Regions from separate parts of the Homo sapiens genome. Here region 1 is linked to region 2. The links are contacts of gene promoters, found by promoter capture Hi-C in blood cells and fetal thymus (Javierre and others, 2016). All regions are on one chromosome and are shown on one strand. The core of a region is centred on a gene start or on the middle of the fragment in contact, and the rest is flanking DNA. Distances in the headings are between cores, read along the strand shown. Region 1 holds the start of YIPF2 (Yip1 domain family member 2). Region 2 holds the start of ZNF653 (zinc finger protein 653).

What was found. The method cuts DNA at HindIII sites, captures the fragments that hold promoters and counts their contacts. A CHiCAGO score of 5 or more calls a contact.
Region 1: the fragment with the promoter of YIPF2 here is called in contact with the fragment with the promoter of ZNF653 in region 2 in 1 of 17 cell types (neutrophils); the score reaches 7.5 in neutrophils.

Annotation. Positions count from the first base shown.
Region 1 is chr19:10,927,231-10,931,888 of GRCh38, forward strand. YIPF2 (Yip1 domain family member 2) reads right to left here and starts at 1,409. Exons shown (of 10, transcript NM_001321439.2): 1 at 1,281-1,409; 2 at 1,150-1,210; 3 at 569-729; 4 at 400-486. The coding sequence starts at 1,180. TIMM29 (translocase of inner mitochondrial membrane 29) reads left to right here and starts at 1,581. Exons shown (of 2, transcript NM_138358.4): 1 at 1,581-1,686; 2 at 1,784-3,024. The coding sequence starts at 1,593. The coding sequence ends at 2,472. RefSeq lists enhancers at 40-742, 743-1,443 and silencers at 1,657-1,936, 1,977-2,026. The HindIII fragment of the contact is 36,725 bases long and covers 1-4,658 here.
Region 2 is chr19:11,502,189-11,507,299 of GRCh38, forward strand. ZNF653 (zinc finger protein 653) reads right to left here and starts at 3,651. Exons shown (of 9, transcript NM_138783.4): 1 at 3,300-3,651. The coding sequence starts at 3,598. ECSIT (ECSIT signaling integrator) reads right to left here. Exons shown (of 8, transcript NM_016581.5): 8 at 3,741-4,240. The coding sequence ends at 3,996. RefSeq lists an enhancer at 2,747-2,816 and silencers at 2,967-3,636, 3,797-3,846. The HindIII fragment of the contact is 17,773 bases long and covers 1-5,111 here.

The sequences.
Region 1 (4,658 bases), core at 159-2,658, 580 kb before region 2:
ACTCCTCAGGTTATCTGCCCACCTCGGCCCCCTTAAGTGCTGGGATTACAGGCAGGAGCCACTGCGCCCAGTCCATCTTTGGTCTTCTGCATATGCTGTTCCCTGTGCCTGGAACATATACTCCTGCTTCCCTACCCTATTCCCCAGGGAAGCCTTCTGTCTCCTTTAGGTCTCAGCCAATTCCTCACCTCCCCCAGGAGGCCTTTCTCTAACCCACCAGATTGTGTGTGTCCCCTGTGTTCCCATAGTCCCGATCCATAACCAGTCCCACCATAACCCTTTGAGAGCACCACAGTTCGTTCACCAGCACCCACCATCACCAGCACCCTGCCCAGGGGAAGAGTGGCTGAACCCTGAGCATAACTCTGAGCCCCATCCCACCTGCCTCCCCAGCCTGACCTGTGAGGTGTCCACGTCAAAGAAGCTCTGATAGTAGCTGAAGGTCCAGAATCCCGGCTGCTGCTGCTGCTGCTGCTCCTGCAGGAGCTGCACATTGCGGGCATTCAGTGCCTGCCCGGAGAGCCTGGGTCAGCTGGGGGCTGCAAGGAGGCAGGACACAGGGACTCACCGCGGCCTTGTCACTCTCCTCCTCCACCTCATCCTCGGCTCCATAGCTGCCACCTGAGCCCACGGCCACAGCCACGTGCCCTTGTGGGGTCAGCTGATCGCTTCTGCTGGTGGTGGCTGCATCTGGGGTGTCAGCCAGAAGATTAGTGGCCTCCTCGAATTCTGTGGAGGAGGTATATGGGACACACGCACGTTTGAGGGGTGGAAAGAACTCGACTGGGCCCAAGCTAAACCGATGCTCATCTGGGGGCGGAGGCTCTGCTGAGCCATTGATCTCCCCCAAGGTGGGGCCCAACTTCCTCAGTTTGGAGGCATCCGGAGGACATCTGTTCCCTTCCTCCTAAAGTGGAACTGCAACTTAGGGTTGACGCTGGGATGGGGTCAGGGTCTGGGGACGAGAGGCTCGGGTTTGAGGTCTGAGTTCAGGGCGGGGGCGGGGTTCGAGTCAGAGATGGGTCTCACTCCTGGGTCAGGGTTCACAGCCGCCTAGGCTTCGGGGTAGAGAAATTGGAAGCCGTATCGGGGGGAGGTTCTGGCCCGGGGCGGGAGTGGGAGATCCGGCCACGTCGGGGCCGCACTCACCATGGAAGGTCAGCTCGTCGGCCGATGCCATGGTCGTTCAGGGGCGTCTCCGCATCCCTCGCTGAGGACAGAGACCGGTCAGGCACACTTCCCCCCCGCCCCCGAGCCGGTCCCTCGGCCCCCAGCCCTACCTGGCGACCAACTGCACCCACGGAGGCTTGAACTCGTCGTCCCGTCCCCACAGGTGCGCTCCGCCCCCCCTCACCTGAGGCCACCTGGGCCGGCGTGGCTGGGGCTCTCTGCGCCTGCGCGTCTCGCCTACCCGTCAGACTCCAACCGACTCAGACCTGACAGCAACATCCGGCGCCTGTCCTCTTTCTATCCTCTCCCGTTGGGAAGCCACTTCCGGTAAAGTTGGCGCTTGCGCAGAAGAGACTCCCGGGCTCTTAACGTCGGGTATCAGGAGTTTCTTCCCGGAGCAAGGACCCCCAAGACGGAAGAGGATGGCCGCGGCGGCTCTGAGGAGATTTTGGTCCCGGCGCCGCGCAGAGGCGGGCGACGCGGTAGTGGCGAAGCCGGGAGTGTGGGCGCGGCTGGGTGAGTAGCGGCGGAAGGCGGCAGGGTGGGTGGCCGCCGCGACAGGGTGGGTGGCCGCCGCGGCCGGATCACTCTTACCGCGCTCCTCTCCCCTCAGGGTCCTGGGCCCGCGCGCTGCTCCGGGACTACGCCGAGGCCTGCAGGGACGCTTCGGCGGAGGCTAGGGCCCGGCCGGGGCGCGCCGCTGTGTATGTGGGTCTGCTGGGCGGCGCGGCGGCCTGCTTCACGCTGGCGCCCAGCGAGGGTGCCTTCGAGGAGGCGCTGCTGGAGGCGTCGGGGACCCTCCTGCTGCTGGCGCCGGCCACCCGCAACCGCGAGTCCGAAGCCTTCGTGCAGAGGCTGCTCTGGCTGCGGGGCCGTGGCCGCCTGCGCTACGTCAACCTGGGGCTCTGCTCGCTGGTGTACGAGGCGCCCTTCGACGCCCAGGCCAGCCTCTACCAGGCGCGTTGCCGCTACCTGCAGCCCCGCTGGACCGACTTCCCCGGCCGGGTCCTGGACGTGGGCTTCGTGGGTCGCTGGTGGGTGCTGGGGGCCTGGATGCGCGACTGCGACATCAACGACGACGAATTCCTGCACCTGCCGGCGCATTTGCGGGTGGTCGGGCCCCAGCAGCTGCATTCCGAGACCAACGAGCGGCTCTTCGATGAGAAGTACAAGCCTGTCGTGCTCACCGACGATCAGGTGGACCAGGCGCTGTGGGAGGAGCAGGTCTTGCAGAAGGAGAAGAAGGACAGGCTCGCCCTGAGCCAGGCCCACTCGCTGGTGCAGGCGGAGGCCCCGAGATGAAACCCTGAGGCCCCCGAGTCCTGGCAAACTGCTTGCCTGGGGTGGTGCAGTTCTGAGTGTGCCTCACCTGCAGAACAGCTGAGACAGATGATGTGCAAAGTGTTTTCTCACTGGATTTGCACAAGTTTGGGGAGCCTTTCTGCCCCCCGTCTTTGTTCTTTATTAGCTGAAGCTAATTCAGAGCCACCTGGGTCCGGGAGTTGGGGACAGCAGAACGACTTGACACATGTTCATCACTGGCAGAGCTGGTCATGAGCCTTTTATATAAGCCTTTTTCATCGGGCCTCAGAGGCCCTCCTTAAGGAGGTACCACATTGGTCAGCTGACTTGCAAACTCTTCTAAGGCCACTTAGATTTTCTTTTTCAAGTTTGGGTTGTGGCCTGGCATGGTGATGTCTGTAATCCCAGCAGTTTGCAAACTGAGGCAAGAGAATCGCTTGAGGCCAGGAGTTTGAGGCCAGCTAGAGTGACATAGCAAGACTCCGATGCTACAAAAAAGAATAATAATAGTAATTAACTAAATAAAATTTGAGCTGAAATGTTTTTATTCTATGACCTATTCTCTCTCGTTTTTTTTTTTTTTTTTTTTGAGACAGGGTCTTGCTCTGTTTTGCCTGCTGGAGTGCAGTGGTGCAATCTCGGCTCACTGCAACCTCTGCCTCCCAGGTTCAAGTGATTCTCCTGCCTCAGCCTCCTCAGTAGCTGGGATTACAGGCCTGTGCCAACATGCCTGGCAAATTGTTGTATTTTTAATAGAGATGGGGTTTCACCATATTGGCCAGGCTGGTCTTGAACTCCTGACCTCAGGTGATCCACCTGCCTCGCATTTCCAAAGTGCTGGGATTATAGGAGTGAACCACCACACCTGGCCTTTCATTTTGATAAGTAACATTTTTGCCATTCCCAGCTCTTTGGAAGGCTGAGGTAGGAGGATTGCTTGAGATCAGGAGTTCAAGACCAGTTTAGGTAAAATAGTGAGAGCTTTCTCAAAAACTAAAATATTTGGAAGGGTAAAGCAGGCAAATCATTTGAGCTTAGGAGTTCAACACCAGCCTGGGCAATATGGCAAAACCCCGTCTCTACAAAAAGTACAAAAATTTACCAAAGGTGTTGAATGAGAATTGAAAATATGTATACATAGAAAAATTAGCCAGACATGTTGGACCATGTCTGTAGTCCCAGCTATTCAGGAAGGCTGAGATGGGAGGATCACCTGAGCCTGGGAGTTCAACGCTGCAGTGAGCCACGATCGTGCCACTGCACTCCATCTTGGACAACAGAGTGAGACTGTCTCAAAAAGTAAAATAAGTGGATGGGCCCGGTGGCTCAAGCCTGTAATCCCAGCACTTTGGGAGGCCGAGGCAGGTGGATCACGACGTCAGGAGATGGAGACCATCCTAGCTAACACGGTGAAACCCCATCTCTACTAAAAATTCAAAAAAATTGGCCGGGCGCGGTGGCTCACGCCTGTAATCCCAGCACTTTGGGAGGCCCAGTCAGGTGGATCACGAGGTCAGGAGATCGAGACCATCCTGGCTAACATGGTGAAACCCCGTCTCTACTAAAAATACAAAAAATTACCGGGGCGTGGTGGCGGGCACCTATAGTCCCAGCTACTCAGGAGGCTGAGGCAGGAGAATGGCATGAACCTGGGAGGCGGAGCTTGCAGTGAGCCGAGATTGCGCCACTGCACTCCAGCCTGGGCGACAGAACAAGACTCCGTCTCAAAAAAAAAAAAAAAAAAAAAATAGCTGGGCGTGGTGGCAGGCATCTGTAGTCCCAGCTACTCAGGAGGCTGAGGCAGGAGAATAGCGTGAACCCGGGAGGTGGAGCTTGCAGCAAGCAGAGATTGCACCACTGCACTCCAGCCTGGGCAACATAGTGAGACTCCAGCTCAAAAAAATAAATAAATAAGTAACATTTTTGTTTTGATTTTTTTAAGTTTTTTTTTGAGACAGAGTTTCGCTCTTGTTGCCCAGGCTGGAGTGCAGTGGCACTCGCCCCAACCACCGCCTCCTGGGTTCAAGCGTTTCTCCTGTCTCAGCCTCCCAAGTAGCTGGGATTACAGGCGCATGCCACCACGCCCGGCTAATTTTTGTATTTTTTAGTAGAGATGAGATTTCATCATGTTGGTCAGGCTGGCCTCAAACTCCTGACCTCAGGTGATCCGCCTGCCTCAGCCTCCC
Region 2 (5,111 bases), core at 2,401-4,900:
TCCAGTGATTCTCCTGCCTCAGCCTCCCAAGCAGCTGCGACTACAGGCGTGCGCCACCATGCCCGGCTAATTTTTGCATTTTTAGTAGAGACAGGGTTTTGGCCTATTGGTCAGGCTGGTCTCAAATTCCTGACCTCAAGAGATCCACCTGCCTTGGCCTCCCAAAGTGCTGGGATTACAGGCGTGAGCTACCATGCCTGGTCTTCCTTTTTTTTATTTTAATTGTTGACAAGAGTCATGAACCTCCTTGGACTCATCATCAGCTTTAACAATTGTTAACTCTTGGCCAACCTTGTATCACAATGTGTACCCCATCCATTCTTCAAGCCACACACATCCTAGAGACAGTTTCTTCTAAAATACAAACCAGGCTGTGTGTGACTTGTAGTCCCAGCTACTCTGGAGGCTGAGGTGGGAGGATCTCTTGAGTCCAGGAGTTCAAGACCAGCCTGGGCAATATAGCAAGACTGCATCTCAAAAATAAATAAACAAATAAATAAGGAAATAAAAGGCCAGGCCCAGGCCCGGGTATGGTTTCATCTTTACATTTAAATCTGCAACCCCGCCGGGCGCAGTGGCTCACACCTGTAATCCCAGCACTTTGGGAGGCCGAGGCAGGCAGACCTCTTGAGGTCAGGAGTTCGAGACCAGCCTAGCCAACATGGCGAAACCCCGTCTCTACTAAAAATACAAAAATTAGCCGGGCATGGGGGTGCACGCCTGTAATCCCAGCTACTCGGGAGGCTGAGGCAGGAGAATCGCTTGAACGCGGGAGGCAGAGGTTGCAGTGAGCTGAGGCTGCGCCAATGTACTCCAGCCTGGGTAACAGAGCAAGACTCCATCTCAAAAAAAAAAAAGGTGGGGGGGGCATCAGGGGAAATAAAGGCAGACCATACCACTTCTTTCTCTGTACAAAATCTTGCACTTAAGAAAAGGCTCCCACCTCACTGGGAGGAAAAACTGGAGTCCTCTCCATGGCTCTGGATGACCTTCCCTGTCACCAATCTGTCCTTGTCTTCCCTTCTCCCCCTCACTCATTGCAGTCCAGCCACACAAGCCTCTTCAGTGTTCCTGGCACACAATAGGCAGGGTCCTGCCTCAGGACCTTTGCCTTTGCTATTCCCTCTGCCTCAACTCTTCCCCAGAGATCTGCATGGCTCCTCCTAGGTTCCTTCATGTCTTTACTGAAATGCTATCTTCTGAATGTGACCACCTTAACTCCCTATTTAAACTTCCAACTCACACTCTTCATTTCACTTTTGTTTTTTCCGTAGCCCCTATCTCTCATGGACGATACAATTTACTTATGTTTCTGGTCTGCAGTAAACAAGCCTTTTGCCAGGTATGGTGGCTCATGACTTTAATCCCAGCACTTCGGGAGGCTGAGGACGGAGGATCCCTTGAGCCGAGGAGTTCGTGACCAGCCTGGGCAACATGGCGAGACCCCCATCTCCATGAAAAATTAAAAAATTAGCCAGGTGAGGTGGCTCCTCTGTAGTCCCAGCTACTTGGGAGACTGAGGCAGGAGGATCCCTTGAGCCTGGGAGGTTGAGGCTGCTGTGAGCTATGAACATGCCACTGTACTCTGGCCTGGGTGACAAAGTGAGACCCTGTCTCAAGAACAAACAAACAGGGCTGGGCACAATGGCTTACACCTGTAATCCCAGCACTTTGAGAGGCTGAGGCCGGAGAATCACTTGAGCCTAGGAGTTTGAAATCAGCCTGGGCAACACAGGGAAACCTCTGTCTCTACAAAAAATACAAAAATTAGCCAGGTGGAGTGACGTGCACCTGTGGTCCCAACTACTCAGGAGGCGGAGGTAAGAGGATCACTTGAACCCACGAGGTTGAGGCTGCAGTAAGCCGTGATCATGCCACTGCATTCCACTCTGGGCGAGAGAGTGAGACCCTGTCTCAAAAAGAAAAACGAGGGCCGGGCGCGGTGGCTCACGCCTGTAATCCCAGCACTTTGGGAGGCCGAGGCGGGTGGATCACGAGGTCAGGAGATCGAGGCCATCCTGGCTAACAGAGTAAAACCCTGTCTCTACTAAAAATACAAAAAATTAGCCGGGCGTGGTGGCGGGCGGCTGCAGTCCCAGCTACTTGGGAGGCTGAGGCAGGAGAATGGCGTGAACCCGGGAGGCGGAGCTTGCAGTGAACGGAGATCGTGCCACTGCACTCCAGCCTGGGCGACAGAGCAAGACTCTGTCTCAAAAAAAAAGAAAAGAAAAGAAAAACGAACAAAAAAACCCCCCAGACCTTTGAACAAGCCATCCCCTCTGCCCACCAGAATGTCCGCTCCATGAGGCAGGTATCTTTGCGCTCCCAGCATTTCCAGTCCTGCTCTTGAGCATATAAGCCAGCCTGCTGTCCTGGGAAAGGGGTGGGTATAACTTAGCAGGATCTGTTTGATTCTTGACTCTCAGAATCTCCCCCCAGAGAAACATGAGAACATGTGTACCTGAAAACCAGGGCAGAACAAGGATTTCCTTGCGGCACTGCTTGTGATACGGAATAAACGTCATCCTCGTAAAAGTTAATACTTAGGGAACCCACTACCTGCCAGGCACTCTTCTAAGCTCTTTGCCTATTTTAACTCAATCATCACATCAACATATAAGGCAGGAAGGGAAAAACTCCATCCACACTGCTCCTTCTCAAGACTGAGAATTTACAAAGACAGGCCTCTCTGCCCTCCACCTGCCAAGCTAACTAGGGGTTTCCTCTTCATCCGAGTCTCCCTGGGCTGAGTTGCTTCACAGAAATAGGTTTAGGGGAGTGCAGTCCAGGTTGTGAAGGGTCCCCCGGATGTGTTGGATCTAGGGTTGTGGGAATGGGGCCATACGGAGTCCCAGATGGGGCACCAGAACTTCAAGAAGGGCAGGGCTGAGTGCCCCAGGGTGTCCAGAGTCCCAGGCCAGGTGGGGAACTAAGCGGGGGAGGATGAGACCGGTGAGGGGGCGGGGCTGCCCCCCCAGGGCCTGGTTAGTTACAAGGCCTGGAGGTGGGGCCAGTCCCAGGATTGGGCCGCCAGAGTTCTAGCGGGCGGGGCCAAGCGCTCAGAAGGCGGGTCGAGGGGCTGGGTGCACCCTAGGATTGGGCAGTCGGAACGATGGGAGGCGGGGCCACGAGCCAGGCGCGTCCCGGCCAGGCAGTACGAGACCCAGGCCGCCGGCCCGGCTCCTGGGCGGGGTCCGCAGGTGCCGGGGGCTGGCCCTAGAAGCGGAGGGGGCGGGGTAAAGCCCGGCGGGGTCTGGGGGCGTCTCCTCCCTCCCTCCCTCGGGGCCAGGCCCCCTCACCCGTGGCGGCCGCTCCGCTGGCCGCGCTCCAGAGAGATGAGGTAGGCGGCGAGCTTGGCGTCGCTCCAGCCGCTGCGGCGCCGCAGGTCCACCCAGGGCCCGTGCGCCTCGCCCAGGTACACGCGCCGCACGTCGTACTTCTTCCGGGACTCGAGCCGTCGCCGGGCCCGGTCCGACTCCGTGAGTCGCGGCCGGCCCCGCGCCTTTCGGCCCGCTGCGCCCTCCTCGGCTGCTGCCTCCCCGCCCGCGCCCGCCTCAGCCTCCGCCTCCGCCTCGGGCTCTAGCGCCCGCTCCGCCATCCCCCCCACCCTGGTTACCAGCCTCCCCCGTTGTTAGGAGCCAGACCGGAAGTGGCGCGCATCTTCGGCGCCGCCGAGAAATTTCTCACGGTCTCTCGCTGCCCCAGGGCGCCAAAAGGAGACCAAGAATGGAAACTGCGCATGCGCACAACCAACAGCGCTCCCGCCCCTTTTTATTTGAATTCGGAGAACCAGAGGCGCCTGCAGATTCTGGAGGGGTCTCGCCTGCCCATCGCTGGCAGCCCGAGATCCTGGGGAGGGGATGCCATACTGCTAGAGATGAGGGAAGAGAGCCCCAAGCAGGAAAACATTGATTTGCTGTACACTCAAAGGGCATCTCATGCCTTCAGTCCACCGCCTCCTCGGGCCACAGCCCGTGCCCTCGCGCCGGCTCAGACTAGCTCTGGCCCTGCTGCTGTCGCTGCAGGTTGTCGTCTTCTTCCTGGTGGTCCTCGGGCAGGGGCGGCTCCTCCAGCCCTGCAGAGGATGTCTGGAGCTCCCGGGTGGACCCGGCGAGGCGGAAGACCACGGGGATCTGGGCCAGGGTTGGGTTGGTCTCCTGCAGGCCCTGGATCCACTTAGCCATCGTCGCCTGGTCATGAGCACCCGCCATGCACATGGCGAAGACAGGGCCTTCCTCCACTGTTGGAAGACATGCACCCTTAAGGTTTGCACAGTGGGGGCTGCAGCGGCTAACCCATGCCTACACCTTTTTGAGGTATTTTACACTCCCTTCCACTTCCTTTTTTTTTTTTTTTTTTTTTTTGAGACGGAGTCTCGCTGTGTCACCCAGGCTGGAGTGCAGTGGCGAGATCTCGGCTCACTGCAACATCCGCCTCCCAGGTTCAAGTGATTCTCCTGCCTCGGCCTCCCGAGGAGCTGGGATTACAGGTGCACAGCACCACGCCGGGCTAATTTTTAAATTTTTAGTAGAGATGGGGTTTCACCATGTTGGCCAGGCTGGTCTCGAATTCCTGACCTCAAATGATCTACCCGCCTCAGCCTCCCAGAGTGCTGGGATTACAGGCGTGAGCCACTGTGCCCGGCTTCCTTCCACTTTCTTGTGCCTCCAAACCTTTGCACAAGCTAGCCCCGCTGCCTAGGCTGCCCACTCCACACTTCACCCGGGCGATGACTCCTGGTTTTTCTGTATTCTGCCAGGAAGGCCTCCTGACCCCCCACTCAAGGCATGCTCCTCTCCTAAGCTCCCCAAAGTGTAATTTGCCTGTTCCCTTGCTGACTCGAGGGACTAGGTTTGTCCTGGTGACACCCAGTAGCCAGCACAGAGTTGTAGGAGGGAGGGAATGAACAAGGGCCAACAGGGCTGGGTGACCTCAGGTCTGGAGCCCCTGGGGCAAATGAGTGTGTGCGGCCGGAGGACGAGGGTGTAAGTGGACTGCGTCTCAGCCTGGGCCTACCCCTTGACCCCAGAGGCCGCCCCTCATCCTGGGTGGTGTTTGGAATGTTTGGAAGTCCTGCCTGTCCAGGTTTTTGCCTTTTTTTTTTTTTTTTT